Linked DNA regions of Homo sapiens: region 2 is linked to region 1. Evidence: promoter capture Hi-C in 16 types of primary human blood cells and fetal thymus (Javierre and others, 2016). All regions are on one chromosome and are shown on one strand. The core of a region is centred on a gene start or on the middle of the fragment in contact, and the rest is flanking DNA. Distances in the headings are between cores, read along the strand shown. Region 1 holds the start of FOSB (FosB proto-oncogene, AP-1 transcription factor subunit). Region 2 holds the start of MEIOSIN (meiosis initiator).

Evidence for each region. The method cuts DNA at HindIII sites, captures the fragments that hold promoters and counts their contacts. A CHiCAGO score of 5 or more calls a contact.
Region 2: the fragment with the promoter of MEIOSIN here is called in contact with the fragment with the promoter of FOSB in region 1 in 1 of 17 cell types (non-activated CD4 T cells); the score reaches 6.6 in non-activated CD4 T cells.

Annotation. Positions count from the first base shown.
Region 1 is chr19:45,465,523-45,469,724 of GRCh38, forward strand. FOSB (FosB proto-oncogene, AP-1 transcription factor subunit) reads left to right here and starts at 2,474. Exons shown (of 4, transcript NM_006732.3): 1 at 2,474-3,190. The coding sequence starts at 3,065. RefSeq lists enhancers at 1-167, 2,575-3,476 and a silencer at 2,111-2,390. The HindIII fragment of the contact is 2,687 bases long and covers 881-3,567 here.
Region 2 is chr19:45,730,929-45,735,130 of GRCh38, forward strand. MEIOSIN (meiosis initiator) reads left to right here and starts at 2,511. Exons shown (of 15, transcript NM_001310124.2): 1 at 2,511-2,738. It also overlaps a transcript of FBXO46 not described here. RefSeq lists enhancers at 1-75, 166-295. The HindIII fragment of the contact is 2,985 bases long and covers 70-3,054 here.

The DNA.
Region 1 (4,202 bases), core at 1,224-3,723:
TAAAAGTGCTTCTTCCTTTGTGCCCAGGGCTGGGCCAGGCTGTGCACTGGGAGGGAAGTGCTGGGTTCTCTGAGGTTTGTGAAATAGCTGGTAGCACCCTTCCCAGTGGGTGCTTAAGAGTTGGGGGCTGTAGCATCTGAAATACCCAAGTCAGTGCAGGCATAGTGGCTCATGCCTGTAATCCCAGCACTTTGGGAGACCGAGGCAGGCGGATCACCTGAGGTTGGGAGTTCGAAACCAGCCTGGCCAACATGGTGAAACCCCCATCTCTATTAAAAATACAAAAGTTAGGCCGGGCACAGTGGCTTACGCCTGTAATCCCAGCATTTAAGAAGGCCAAGGCGGGAGGATCACCTGAGTTTGGGAGTTTGAGAGCAGCCTGACCAATATGGAGAAACTCTGTCTCTACTAAAAATACAAAAAAACTAGCCAGGCATGGTGGCACATGCCTGTAATCCCAGCTACTCGGGAGGCTGAGGCAGGAGAAGCACTTCAACCCGGGAGGCGGAGGTTGCGGTGAGCCGAGATCGTGCCATTGCACTCCAGCCTGGGCAACAAGAGCAAAACTCTGTCTCAAAAAACAAAACAGAACAAAACAAAAATTAGCCAGGTGTGGTGGCGCACACCTGTAATCCCAGCTACTCGGGAGGCTGAGGCAGGAGAATCACTTGAACCCAGGAGATGTAGGCTGCAGTGAGCCGAGATTGTGGCACTGCACTCCAGCCTGGGCAACAGAGTGAGACTCTGTCAAAAAAAAAAAAAAAAAACGTCAGATTCATGAACCCCATTTGCTAAGAAGATTTGCTCAGGTAGTCACCTGTACCCCTGTGAGCCAAGATTGCAACAGTACATGCTAAGAGCAGTAAGAAGGAGATTGTAAAGCTTAGAAAGACCTGACAGGCCAGGCGCTGTGGCTCACGCCTGTAATCTCGACACTTCGGGAGGCCGAGGCAGGCGGATCACCAGGTCAGGAGTTCAAGACCATCCTGACCAATATGGTGAAACCCCGTCTGTACTAAACATATAAAAATTAGCTTGACGTGGTGGCCCGCGCCTGTAGTCCAGCAACTCGAGAGGCTAAGGTGAGGCGGAGGTTGCAGTGAGCCGAGATCGCCACTGCACTCCAGCCTGGCGGCAGAGCAAGACTCCGTCTCAAAAAAAAAAAAAAAAAAAAAAAAAAAAAGACCTGACAAGTGAAAGCTACTAATATTGCCATTATCATTTAAAAAAACCCCAGACACAGGTTTTTCAGGGAGTTTCATCCAACCAGGCAGGTCTCAGAAATCAGAAAAGAAATGGAAAGGGTAGGAAATCTGGAGTTTGACAATTCTGAGTTTGAATTTCTTGTGATGGGATCTTGGGCAAGTCATTTAACCTCCCTGAGTATCATTTTTTTCTTTTATAAAATGAAGATTTTTCTCTCTTAACCTTCCAGAGCTGTTTTAAGGATTACAAATCTTCTACTGAAAGGCGTAGCACAGGAGCTGTGCTTGGCAAGTGCCAAATACAAGGCATTAATTATTATTATTAGAATTAATAATAATATCCCCTCCCTCTTACACATTCTTTGTCTCCGGGTGGATTAAAAGGTGGAAGGAGAGGCTACCAACACCATCAGAAGAGAGGCTTCTCTCTAAGTTTCATTTCCCATCTCCTCCAAATCCGCATCCCTCCCAAACGCCGGACCTGTAAGGCCAGCAGGGTCCAAGACACACATCCTTTGCCCAGCGGGGAAGATTAAAGCTAAAGCTCAGAGAGGGAAAACATTTCCTAAGCTCGCACAGCGAATCAGGACAGAAACCAGGACGAGCCTCGGAATCCCTCCATTACCTCCACTTTCACCTGAGCATCACAGCCCGCTCGGGACTCAGTTTCCCCACCTACGTGACCACACCACACTAATCAGGGTCTCCTTTTGGAGATCTGCTCTTCTTCTCGAATGGGGGCGCTGCACCATCGGTAGAACAGGGTAGGTGGGGGCGCCAGAGGTGAAGGGGACCTGCAGGCTGGGGTCTTCCCCGCCCGGGTCAGCGGGGTCCCTGCGGGGCTAGTCTAAGCGCCTATTATTACCAGCCCCCGGGGCGGCGTTGCACTGCGCAGGCGCGGGCGGGGCGCGGGCGCGCGCGCGAGCGAGCGAGGGATTCCCTCTGACGTCATTGCTAGGATACCAAACAAACACTCCGCCGCGCCGGCCGAGCTCCTTATATGGCTAATTGCGTCACAGGAACTCCGGGAAGGCGGGGCCGGGATCCCCTCCCGCCGAGTGGCCCGGAACGCAACCCCCGAGACCCCCAGGGCCCCGAGGGTCATGCAAGTGACCAGATCGAGTCTAGAACAGACCTCTTGCTGGACAGTGCGGGACTCGATTTGGCGGGGCCGGAGATTTGGGGAAGTTTGTCCAGCAAGGGGCGGGTGACGTAAGCAGGGGGGCGGGTCCCGGGCATATAAATACAGGCTGGCGGGTCTGTGCTTCATTCATAAGACTCAGAGCTACGGCCACGGCAGGGACACGCGGAACCAAGACTTGGAAACTTGATTGTTGTGGTTCTTCTTGGGGGTTATGAAATTTCATTAATCTTTTTTTTTCCGGGGAGAAAGTTTTTGGAAAGATTCTTCCAGATATTTCTTCATTTTCTTTTGGAGGACCGACTTACTTTTTTTGGTCTTCTTTATTACTCCCCTCCCCCCGTGGGACCCGCCGGACGCGTGGAGGAGACCGTAGCTGAAGCTGATTCTGTACAGCGGGACAGCGCTTTCTGCCCCTGGGGGAGCAACCCCTCCCTCGCCCCTGGGTCCTACGGAGCCTGCACTTTCAAGAGGTACAGCGGCATCCTGTGGGGGCCTGGGCACCGCAGGAAGACTGCACAGAAACTTTGCCATTGTTGGAACGGGACGTTGCTCCTTCCCCGAGCTTCCCCGGACAGCGTACTTTGAGGACTCGCTCAGCTCACCGGGGACTCCCACGGCTCACCCCGGACTTGCACCTTACTTCCCCAACCCGGCCATAGCCTTGGCTTCCCGGCGACCTCAGCGTGGTCACAGGGGCCCCCCTGTGCCCAGGGAAATGTTTCAGGCTTTCCCCGGAGACTACGACTCCGGCTCCCGGTGCAGCTCCTCACCCTCTGCCGAGTCTCAATATCTGTCTTCGGTGGACTCCTTCGGCAGTCCACCCACCGCCGCCGCCTCCCAGGTAAGTTTTTGATAGTAGGGGTGCTGCTTTGTAGGTTTTATTTTTTAAGTCAAGGGTGAAAAGAATAAACCCCAACCCCCACAAAAAGGCGCATCAGAACCCTAGATCTGAGATGGAAAAGGCTCACAGCGCACTTTGCAAACTGCAAAGAGTCGGGAGATGTTTGCAATTGGTTGCGTGCGTGGAGCGCAAGGAGGGAACGCGGCAGGGAGGGTAGGCTTTGGGGCGAGGTGGGGGTGGGGTGGGTAATGCGCTGCTCAATGCAACGTGTATGCGGTAGCGGGGCTGAGAACTTTGAGCCGGCCCCGGGACTGCCCCCTGCTCGGGTCCCAGACCTGAAGCTAGCGCAGTTAGGCAGGTGGGGGAAATCCCGGGGAAGCTTCCAGCAGTCTCTTTTCCTTTCCTCCTCCTTCGGAGCGCCCACTTCGGTGCCGGGTCGCCCTCCACCCATCGGGAAGAGGGGCCTCGAACCCTCAGCCGCGCTGCCTCCGCCTCCTGCGCGGAGACGTAACGGGGGACCCGTGCGTAACGGCTGACGCGCTGGAATCCTCCGTCTGACGCGGGGCACGCACGGCGCGCGGCGCCCCCTTCGTCCGCCCCGCCCCTGACGTCCCGGGAGCGTTCTATTTTGGAACGCCGGGGCCACGTTGCTAAGGGAGGGGGCAGCCCGGCGTTTCGATTGGCCGCCGGGGCGCACGCCTTGGCCAATCAGCTTTCCCTTCCTATTTGTAGGGTGCATTTTCCTTCCCCCCTCTCTGTCCCCGGAACCCGTGGTTCCTTGGCGGCTGGGTCTCTTTTCGGCGCCTCTAGAGGCAGAGGGAGGGGATCCCTGTCGTGACAAGAGCGCCTGTCTGCGACCCAATGGATCTGCGAGGCCCTTGCGGGGATCTAGTCCCTGGGCTCTCAGGAGAAGGGGGTGTCTGCTTGTGTGCTGGCGTTTCTTGGAGAGATACGGTGGCTGTCACCCTCTTCTCCAGGCACACACAGACACATTCCCACTCCCTCTGCTCCT
Region 2 (4,202 bases), core at 1,261-3,760, 270 kb after region 1:
TCCCGAAGCCCGCTGGGAATTGAAGTCCGGGCAGCCACGGACTACATCCCCCAGAAGGCAGCACGGTCAAGCTTGGAGGTGGGGTAGGAAGCAAATTAGGCGGGCGGAGGAAAAGAACGACTCGAACTCCCGGGAGACAAAGCCGGGGAGGACTTGGCAGCGCAAGCGCAGGGTGCTTCCCCGCTGGGCGCGCTGGGAGATGGAGTCTAGCCAGGAGGGCTCCATTTTTGCCCGAGGCCCTTGGGAAGGGAATTGAGAATATTGCAATAGGGTGTTGGTGAGGGGTGGAGAGTTGGGGAAGAGCAAATTTATTGATTCATTTGTGCCGATCAACACAATAGCTAACAGCTCCTTGTGCTTTTCCAAACTCCTTCCCATCCATCCCCTTCTTTTTTTTTTTTTTTTTGAGACGGAGTCTTGCTCTGTCACCCAGGCTGGAGTGCAGTGGCGCAATTTCGGCTCACTGCAACCTCCGCCTCCTGGGTTCAAGCGATTCTCCTGCCTGAGCCTCCTGAGTAGCTGGGATTACAGGAGCCCGCCACCACGCCCGGCTAGTTTTTGTATTTTTAGTAAAAACGGAGTTTCACCATGTTGGTCAGGCTGGTCTTGAACTCCTGACCTCATGATCCACCCGCCTCGGCCTCCCAAAGTGCTGGGATTACAGGCGTGAGCCACCGCGCCCGGCCCGTCCCCTCCTTTCTTACCTCCTGATTTACAAATGAGAAAATTAAGCCTTAGGAGGAAGGAAAGTCCCATACATTAGGAGTTAGTCCACATCATAGAATAGCAGCTCCACATCGCTCGAGCCCAGGAGTTCGAGGCAGTGAGCTAGTGTTACACCACCGCCCTCCATGCAGTTCAGCCTGGGCGACAGAATGAGACCCTGCTGCCTCTTAAAATAAAAGAAGGCCGGGCGCGGTGGCTCACGCCTGTAGTCACAGCACTTTGGGAGGCCGAGGCGGGCTGATCACAAGGTCAGGAGATCAAGACCATCCTGGCTAACACACTGAAACCCCATCTCTACTAAAAATACAAAAAATTAGCCGGGCTGGGTGGCGGGTGCCTGTAGTCCCAGCTACTCGGGAGGCTAAGGCAAGAGAATGGCGTGAACCCAGGAGGCGGAGCTTGCAGTGAGCCGAGATCGCGCCACTGCACTCCAGCCTGGGGGACAGAGCGAGATTCCGTCTCAAAAAAAAAAAAAAGAAGAAGAAGAAGAAGAAGCTCCAGGAGGGCAGAGATCTTTGTGTACCTTGTTCAAGCACCTAGAACAGCGTAAACATGTGTTCAGTAAATATTTATTGCATCGGAACTATATGCCAGACACCCTACAGACAACCCTGGTAGGAATTACAATCCCAAATTTATAAGGCAGAAAGAGATTAAGCCTCTTGTCGCTGGCAACACAGCCAAGAAAACGATTTGAACTGAAATGTATTGGATTTCAGGGTTTCTACTCTTGACTAGGTCGTTAGATCATCTCCCCTTAAGACGTATTTTCCAGGCTGGGTGCGGTGGCTCATGCTTATAATCTCAGCCGGGAGACTGGCTTTAGTCCAGGAGTTTAAGACCAAACTAGGCAGCAAAGTGAGACCCTCGTCTCTACCAAAAAAAAAAAAAAAAAAAGCCCAAATCTTTTATTCTTTTTCTTTCTTTTTTTTCCTTTTTTTTTTTTTTTTTTTTTTTGAGACAGAGTCTTGCTCTGTCGCCCAGGCTGGAGTGCAGTGGCGATACCAGCTCATTCAACCTCCACCTCCCAGGTTCAAATGATTCTCCTGCCTCAGCCTCTGGAGTAGTTGGGACTACAGGCGCGCCCCACCATGCCCGGCTAATTTTTGTATTTTTAGCCGAGACGGGGTTTCACCATTGTTGGCCAGGCTGGTCTGGAACTCCTGACCTCAAGTGATCCGCCCGCCTCGTCCTCCCAAGAAGGCCCAATTCAAATGGCCCTCCTCTTTGAATCCTTTCCCAACGTATTGTTCTCTGCATTAACCGAGTTCCCGTCTCACCGGATTCTCATGGTCTCGGAGGTTCTCACGGTCTTCTCGATTGTACTGGGAAGACAGTGGCTAAGTTCCCACCATCTAGCCTGGTGCTTGGCACACAGGAGGCCCTCATGAATCACGAACTGAAGGGAAAAGGTGGAAATGGGACATCATAGGGCCAGAAGGGACACAGGCGAGCTCGCTCTCTCTCTCTTCCTGAGAGTTGGCAGTTGAGGAAACCCAGCCTACTTGGGATGCAACGGCCCTGGACCACGCGGGTCGTGCAGGGGCGTGACCGCTTAAAAAGGCGGGTGGCTGAGCGGGCGCTGATTGGTCACCTAGCGGCTCACGCCGACCAAGGCCTTGTCAGAAGGCTCGAGGCCGAGCTCACGCTGTGCAAGACGACAGGGCCCTTCCCGAGGCGCGCGTGCGCACGGCCACTTGCACCCTGCCCTTTCAACCCCGTCGTCTCGTGCCCAGCACATCTTGGCTGGAACTGGTAGGGGCGTGGCCTGGCCTCAGGAACGCACTCTTGCTCTGCTCCTCACGCCTCGCGCAGGATCCTCGCGCCGGGAGGATTCGCACCCAACCCCAAGCCCGGTTGGGAACGTGGTGTCCGAGACCGTCTGGGATCCCCGCGCGCACGGCCGGCTTCCCGGGACCCGCGCGAGACGCTGTCTGATCGGGCTCCCTAGAGTGGGGCCCGGAGAAACCAGAACGGCGGGGGCAGCCTCACGCCATTTTGCACGCCCTGAGGCGGGTGCTGGAGGCCAAGGGGAATGGGGCGCGGGGCAGGGGGCCTCCCCCAGCACTAGCTGGGCTTAGGGGAACCCGGGATCCCCACAGGAGCTTCCCTCGGTGGGGGGCTCAGGGGAATAGAACATGCTCTGGGTGCAGGGCCACGGGCGACGGAGTTTGGGTTTGAAGCCGGGGGTCCAGGTTCGAGTTTGAGGAACGGAAGACTCTGTTTGTGTTGGGAATCCGGGCTCTCGAGTTCTGATCTGGGATCTCGGGATTTGTGTCTAGGGGTGACTAGTTCTGGAATCTGAAGAGCTTGAGTTTTGTGACTGGAAGCTTTCTCCTTGGAATCCAGAGATCCCAATTTGGGGATCTGGAAGTCTTAGTTCTGAGTTATGATGTAACATTTTGAGAGTCTGGAGCCTGATTTGGGGCAACTGAAGCCTCAGTATAGATTTAGGGCCTAAATCCCAATGTAGAGTATGAAGCTTTAGGATCTGGAGTCGCAGTTTGAGTCTTTAGAAGCACGTTTTAGGGCCTGGAGTGCCCACATTGAGTATGGGAGCTCCAGTTTTAGGGTCTGGGGTTTCAGAGTAGGACCCACATTCGAGATCTCAGTTTTAGGGTTGGGGCCACAATTTGAGGGACAGTTTGGACGTCTAAGAGGTCAATCTGGAGAAGTGAGATTTGTTTCATAGGGGCCTGGATTTCTTATCTTAGGATATAGGTTCATAGTGTTACAGCTTGCAGTCTGTAATCTTAGTATTAGGATCATATTTGAAGATCAGAAGTTGACAGTTTGAGGGTCTGGGGTATCTCAGTATTAGAATTTAGGGTTTGTAGGTTTGGGAGGGCTCCTTTTTTTTTGTTTTTGAGACAAGGTCTCACTTTGTCATCCAGGCTGGAGTGCAGTAGTGCGATTTTAGCTCACTGCAGCCTTGACCTCCTGGGCTCAAACCATCCCCCCACCTCAGGCTCCCAAGTAGCTGGGACTACAAGCATGTGCCACTATGCCCAGGTAATTTTTTTTTTTTTTTTGTAGAGGTGGAGTTTTGTCATATTGCCAGGCTGGTCTCAAACTCCTGAGATCAAGCAATCCTCCTGCCTTGGCCTCCCAAAGTGCTAGGATTACAGGCGTGAGCCACTGTACCTGGCTTTGGGAGGGCTCCAAAGTGAGGATTTAGGTCCTCATTTTGGGACTCTAAAGTATTAGTTTTAGTGCCTTTTTAGAGGTTTAGGGGTTTGTTTTTGTTTTTGTTTTTTGAGACACAGTCTCACTCTGTTGTCCAGGCTGGAGTGCAGTGGCTTAATCCTGGCTCAGTGCAACCTCCGCCTCCCAGGTTCAAGTGATTCTCCTGCCTCAGCCTCCCAAGTAGCTGGGATTACAGTCGTGCACCACCACGCCCGGCTAATTTTTGTATTTTTAGTAGAGATGGGGTTTCACCATGTTGGCCAGGCTGGTCTCAAACTCCTGACCTCGAG